Linked DNA regions of Homo sapiens: region 1 is linked to region 2. The links are contacts of gene promoters, found by promoter capture Hi-C in human tissues and cell types (Jung and others, 2019). All regions are on one chromosome and are shown on one strand. The core of a region is centred on a gene start or on the middle of the fragment in contact, and the rest is flanking DNA. Distances in the headings are between cores, read along the strand shown. Region 1 overlaps EPB41 (erythrocyte membrane protein band 4.1). Region 2 holds the start of RAB42 (RAB42, member RAS oncogene family).

The links. The method cuts DNA at HindIII sites, captures the fragments that hold promoters and counts their contacts. A contact is called where the count stands out against the background at its distance.
Region 1: a contact is called between a fragment that was not itself captured here and the fragment with the promoter of RAB42 in region 2, in 1 of the 25 tissues and cell types used here (aorta).

What each region holds. Positions count from the first base shown.
Region 1 is chr1:29,086,076-29,089,456 of GRCh38, forward strand. The region is part of intron 16 of EPB41 (erythrocyte membrane protein band 4.1); the gene reads left to right. Among named protein-coding and RNA genes, the nearest start is that of TMEM200B, 36 kb to the right of the region's middle. The HindIII fragment of the contact is 7,588 bases long and covers 1-3,381 here.
Region 2 is chr1:28,590,113-28,593,711 of GRCh38, forward strand. It overlaps RAB42 (RAB42, member RAS oncogene family), which reads left to right and starts at 2,153. Exons shown (of 2, transcript NM_001193532.3): 1 at 2,153-2,632; 2 at 3,582-3,599. The coding sequence starts at 2,400. RefSeq lists a silencer at 2,294-2,363 and an enhancer at 3,145-3,599. The HindIII fragment of the contact is 15,812 bases long and covers 1-3,599 here.

The sequences.
Region 1 (3,381 bases), core at 493-2,992, 500 kb after region 2:
CTCTTCAGGTTTTAAAGATCATTTCACTACTGAAACCAGATACAAGTGCTTGCATAAGAAAATAATCACTTTTTATTACCAAAGTAATACATACTTGTTTTAGAAAGGTTAGGAAATAGAGAAAAACCACAAACAAAAAGATCGTTTGCAATCCCTTGATTATTAATATTTTAGTACACCTTAAAATCTTTTGTCTTTCCTTTTTTTTTTTTTTTTTGAGACAGAGTCTTGCTGTGTCACCAGGCTAGAGTGCAGTGGTGCCATCTCGGCTCACTGCAACCTCCGTCTCCCAGGTTTAAGCGATTCTCCTGCCTCATCCTCCGGAGTAGCTAGGACTACAGGCACATGCCACCACACCCAGCTAATTTTTGTATTTTTAGTAGAGACGGGGTTTCACCATGTTGGCCAGGATGGTCTCGATCTCTTGACCTCATGATCCACCCGCCTCAGCCTCCCAAAGTGCTGGGATTACAGGCATGAGCCACCGCGCCCGGCCACCTTAAGATCCTTTTCATGTGTATATTTATACACATTGGAAAATATAATTTTTAAATGGCTAAGAAATGAAGCATAACTGATCAAGAGGAGGATTTAGTCTTTGAATTATATAGAAAGATAAAATGAGACAATAGCAGTGTGTTTTCTTCCTTTTAATAGAGAAAGGAGTTGTTTTTCTATTGCCACTAAAAGGTAAAATTGGTCTTCACTAAGTGGGGAACAAGTGACTAAATGTGTGGGGATAAAATTACTACACAGGTACTCATACATGGCTCTTATGTAGCAAAATTTTAGAAAAATTTTCAGGATATATTTTCACTTTGATCTCTTAAAGGATAAGACACTCTTGTAAGCTTAACTGTGGTTCTTTTTTTTTTTTTTTTTTTTTTGAGACAGAGTCTTGCTCTGTCGCCCAGGCTGGGGTGCAGTGGCACAATCTTGGCTCACTGCAAGCTCCGCCTCCTGGGTTCACGCCATTCTCCTGCCTCAGCCTGAGTAGCTGGAACTACAGGCGCCCGCCACCATGCCCGGCTAATTTTTTGGAGTTTTAGTAGAGACAGGGTTTTACCATGTTAGCCAGGATGGTCTCCATCTCCTGACCTTGTGATCCGCCCGCCTTGGCCTCCCAAAGTGCTGGGATTACAGGTGTGAGCCACCGTGCCCAGCCAACTGTGGTTCTTTTGATAGTCTCTTCAAATATGTAAATCCTTACTTCAAAAATAACCTGAAAAGAAATAGACTCTGGATTGCATTTGTTGGAGTGGCAGCAAAATACCTATAAAACACCCATATCCTGCTTTTTTTTTGAGATGGAGTTTTGCTCTTGTTGCCCAGGCTGGAGTGCAATGGCACAATCTCAGCTCACTGCAACCTCCACGTCCTTGGTTCAAGCAATTCTCCTGCCTCAGCCTCCCGAGTAGCAGGGATTACAGGCATGCGCCACCACACCTGGCTAATTTTGTATTTATATTAGAGACGGGGTTTCTCCATGTTGGTCAGGCTGGTCTCGAACTCCCAACCTCCGATGATCACCCGCCTTGGCCTCCCAAAGTGCTGGGATTGTAGGCGTGAGCCACTGCGCCCGGCCCATATCCTGCTTTTAATAATATCTGGAATTCATAGGTCAAAAAAGGGGTAATTTATAACTCATAAAGGCATATATATAATCAGGGTCTGATGATTCTGAGACATAATCCCTTTGCATAAATAGTTTTTGAGAGAAAGCCTTTAGGAAAAAAAATCTTGTTTTCTTCCCCAAAACAAAGAAAATACTGAATTATCATACTTAGCAGGAGCCATTGACTTTTTAAATGAAATTGAGAATCTTCAAATAATGTTTCTGTTCAGTTAAATATTTGTCTAATATTCTTTTTTTCATATTATTAAAACCAACTAGATATCATTGCAGTACTTTATATATATAGGCAGCCAATCTTTCTATCATAGCATCTTTTTTCCTTTTTCTTTTTTTCTTTTTTTCTTTTTTTTTTGAGATGGAGCCTCCCTCCTGTCGCACAAGCTGGAGTGCAGTGGCACGATTTCAGCTCACTGCAACCTCCACCTCCTGGGTTCAAGCGATTCTCCTTCCTCAGCCTCTTGAGTAGCTGGGATTACAGGCGTGCGCTACCACGCCTGGCTAATTTTTGTATTTTTAGTAGAGACGGGGTTTCGCCATGTTGGCTAGGCTGGTCCTAAGCTCCTGACCTCAGGTGACCCACCCGCCTCGGCCTCCCAAAGTGCTAGGATTACAGGTGTGAGCCCCTGCACCCGGCCAGCATCTTTTTTCTTACAGATTCCCCATCAGTTCAGGTAAGCGACATCTAGATTAACACCTTTGAATCACATTAAGTCTCAGCTTTGCCTTTTTGTCACTGAGGATGGTTCAGACACAGCCATATATTCATCTTCTACTTGAGAAGATCCCTTTAAAGTTTTCAGGCTAATTTGGTATGTGCAGTTGCAGTCTTATATAATCCAATGGCCCTTGATGATGGTCACAGCCAAAGGCAACAACACTGTCAGAATTCTTTACTGATATTAAATGCCAAATTCTGGGTGTCTTGTGTCATGGAGACTTTATATTTTCTTCTGGCCAGTCTTGTCTTCTGGCTTCTCAGCCTTCTTATATGTAAAAATCTAGTGTCAGCCACTCAGAACAGACTCTGTTAAGAGGAGTTTGGGCGCTGTTTGTATGTCTCAAAGTTAAAGTCGGGTTTGCTGTGTGTTATTTTGAGCATAATAGGACATGTCCTGAAGCTGGGCACACTGGCATGTGCCTGTAGTCCTAGCTAATCGGGAGCCTCAGATGGGAAGATCCCTTGGGCCCAGGGATTTGAATCCTGCCTGAGCATCATAGTGAGAGCCTATGTCTAAAAAATAAATATATACATAAGTAAAATAAATAGGACATGTGCTTTGGTCCTACTTGAAATACCTTCTGGTGTCATGGGAAGAAGATGGGCTTTAGAACCAGAGATAGATCTGAGTCTAAACACTAGCTGCTCATCTGTTCATCTATAAAATAGAAATAATGACTACTTCATAATTATACTGTAAATAATTAAATGAAAAAACATGCTCAAGTGATTAGCACAGCACCTGGCACATGGTAAACATACAAAAATATTAGTTTTCTCTTATTTTACTGATGGAGGAGATAAAATGCTGGACTAGACTATGAGTCTGGTCAAATGAGCCACTGTTTATTTCTTCCTAAACATGCTTTTCTAAACATTTTAGTTACAGAATAGCACAGGACAAAGAAGAAGTTCTCAAGTGACCTGGATTTACCTAACATACCTTCAACACGTTTTTACTGAGCATCTATTACATACCAAAAACTGTACAAGAAAGATAGAGAGCTAAGTAAGACAGTAACAAGTT
Region 2 (3,599 bases), core at 903-3,402:
AGCCACCGCGCCCAACCCAACCCAGATATGTTCTAATGCAAGTGCAGATAACCTTAACTGCTGTGTCACGCGGCTCCTCCAGAACTACCCTGTGAGATTAGGTACCGTGATTTGCCTGACTTAGCAGAAGAGGAAGCAGGGATCAGGGAAGGGAAATAACTTACCCCAGGTTACACAGTGAATCTGTGGCAGAAGTCATGGCAGAAGTCAGCTGACATCTGGATTTAACTGCAGTCAGAGGCAGACACATGATCCCAGCCCACAGCAGGAGCATCTGGGAAAGGGAGGAAGTTCAAGAAGCCAGATGCTGACAGTGCATTGCCCACGTGGGCTGACTGGAAAGGCCTCAGGGAGGGCTGGGGTCAGACTGCATTTCCAGCTGCTTCATGCCTCTCTGGATTCTCCTTTCTCCTTGACCTTCCCAGATCCCACTTATCCTTGGAGACTCAGCTTCAACATCAGCTGGGATGGGCTTCTCTGACCCTTTGGCTTCCCAAGTCCAGCTCTATCATGGTGTTTGACGGAATGAATGGATGGGTGAATGAACAGCACTTACCCACTTTCATTAATTCATCTAGCTATAAATATTTACTGAGCTTCTACTTTGTTTATTATTATTTTTTTTTGAGACGGAGTCTCGTTCTGTCACCCAGGCTGGAGTGCGGTGGCGCAATCTTGGCTCACTGCATCCTCCACCTCCCGGGTTCAAGCGATTCTCCTGCCTCAGCCTCCCAAGTAGCTGGGATTATAAGCACGTGCCACCATGCCCGACTAATTTTTGTATTTTTAGTAAAAACGGGGTTTCACCATGTTGGCCAGCTGGTCTCGAACTCCTGACCTGAAGTGATCCACCCTCAGCCTCCAAATGTGCTGGGATCACAGGTGTGAGCCACTGCGCCTTGAGTTTCTACTTTATGCCAAGCGCTGAGTTAGGCCCTGAGGATACAATCATCAGCCCCTGCCCTCAAGGAGCCTGCAGCCTGGGAGAGAGACTGACATCAGAGATGGTCAGAAGTGCATGTGGGCCAGACGTGGTACAGGTTCACACCTGTAATCCCAGCATCCCAGCACTTTGGGAGATGGAGGCGGGCGGATCACTTGAGGTCAGGAGTTTGAGACCACCTTGGCTAACATGGTGAAACCCCGTCTCTACTAAAAATACAAAAATTAGCTGGGCGTGGTGGTAGGTGCCTATAATCCCAGCTACTTGGGAGGCTGAGTTGGGAGGATGGCTTGGACCCAGGAGGTGGAGGTTGCAGTGAGCCGAGATTGTGCCACTGCACTCTAGCCTGGGCGACAGAGTGAGACTCCATCTCAAAAATAAGTAAATAAATAAAAACGAGACTAGAGAGACTAGAGTTGGCTGGAGCAACTGGAACTCCAGCCTCAGTGCCCTGGGTTTCCAGAAGGCCAGCCTGGAAAGGGTGGAGTAAACCTTGGAGGCTCATGTGCTGCCTCACCCTAGCCCCTCACCCAAGCAAAACTCAACCAGTGTCTTAGTGCTTGTGGGACCTGCTTTGTCCCCTTTTGTGGCATCGAAGGGGTGATGAAGGATGAGACAAACCTGGATGTGAGTCCCAACTCTGCTGTGTGACCTGAGACAAGCCGTGCCTCTGAGCCTCAGTCTCCTCAGCTCTAAGAGGGGCACTCCCATGGCCCTGTCAAAGGGTTGCTGTCCACAAAACATGAACTGACCGTTGGCCTCATACATGTTAGTTGTCGAATCCACAGGCCAACTGCACTCCCTTTAGAACTGCAGTTGTCTGTGTCTGTCCTGCCTCCTCAACCAGACTGTGCCCAAGTTCCTTCTGGGGCCCTGGTGTCCAACTCAGACAGGCATTAGAGGAAGCCGTGGGGGCTGTTGAACGTTGAACCTGAACACTGAACTAGAGGCCCCAGGCCGGGGCTAATGAGGGCTCCAGGAAAGGGCTTCTGGGTGGAGAGGGAGCATCTACTAACCACTCACTTCCAGAGTGGCCTTCCCGGGTCCAGCAGAGGGTTGGGCGCCAACTAGGGAACCCACAGAGGAGGCGGGGGGTGGGGCGGGGGAGCGGTGTGGAGCGGGTAAGGGGGTGGGGCTGGAGATTAAGAAATGAGTGAGGTGGATGCTTCAGCGCTGTTAGTCTCCTCCCCATGCCCCTCCTCACTTCATCTAGTTTAGTCCCTTTATCCTGTGAAGTAGGGGTCATCATTAGCCCCCTTTTACAGAGGAGAGAATTGAGGCTTCGAGAGAGAGAAACTTGGCCAGGAGTTTCCACTCGGTCCGACGCCCTCGGTGCCCCGCCGGGTACGGTGGCTGGGCGCGGGGAGCGGGGGGCGGCGCCGGCGGGGCCCCGGGCAGGGGCGGGGTCGGGGCGCGGACAAAACCGCCGCGGGGCGGCGGGGTGGCGGACGCGGCCATGGAGGCCGAGGGCTGCCGCTACCAATTTCGGGTCGCGCTGCTGGGGGACGCGGCGGTGGGCAAGACGTCGCTGCTGCGGAGCTACGTGGCAGGCGCGCCTGGCGCCCCGGAGCCGGAGCCCGAGCCCGAGCCCACGGTGGGCGCCGAGTGCTACCGCCGCGCGCTGCAGCTGCGGGCCGGGCCGCGGGTCAAGCTGCAACTCTGGGACACCGCGGGCCACGAGCGCTTCAGGTGCGGGTAGCCGGGGCGCGGGAGGGACTTCTGGTGGGGGGCTCGGTGAGCGTGCTTTAGGCCACGGCAACTCCCGAGAGGCCAACTCAGAGGTCAGGCGGAGGGCGAGGTCCCTGCCCTGGGTCCCGCCCGGTCCACTGGGGCCAGAACCTCCCCTGCTCGGAGTCATTTTTCCCACGAACACTGCGGGGTGGGTCGAGTCCCAGAGACCAGGAACATCCCTGGCTTTGAGCTCTGGACTCTGGAGAGATGCTGAGTGATACTGGCCCCGGGTGCTGAGAGCTCAGGGGAACAGAGCGGGAAGTGTCGAGGAGATGTGGAAGGGAGAGAGGATCAGCAGGAGTTTGCCAGGAAGAGAACAGAGGAACGAAGACCTAGGTCAGGGCAGCACCAGGCCTTCTCCAAGAATGAGGGATTCAAGTCACGCTTGCTCCCTAACTGGAGCACCCAGACTTTTTTCTTTTCTTTTTTTTTTTTGAGACGGAGTCTCTCTCTGTCGCCCAGGCTGGGGTGCAGTGGTGCGATCTTGGCTCACTGCAAGCTCCGCCTCCTGGGTTCACGCCATTCTCCTGCCTCAGCCTCCCAAGTAGCTGGGACTACAGGCGCCCGCCACCACGCCCGGCTAATTTTTTTGTATTTTCAGTAGAGACACGGGGTTTCACCGTGTTAGTCAGGATGGTCTGGATCTCCTGATCTCGTGATCCACATCCACCCGCCTCGGCCTCCCAAAGTGCTGGGATTACAGGCGTGAGCCACCGCACCCGGCCAGCACCCAGACTGTTAGGAGAGACACAGACACCGAGGCAGAGAACCACGGGGCCGTGTGAAGTGAGCCCTGTTGGGGTGTGAGGCATTCTGTGGATCCCAGGGGGAGGAGGTCCTGCCTCTGGGGGTGTCATGGAGGCATCAGCCTCTCCCAGCTTACCTTTCCACCTCCCTGCCTCCCCAGGTGCATCACCAGGTCCTT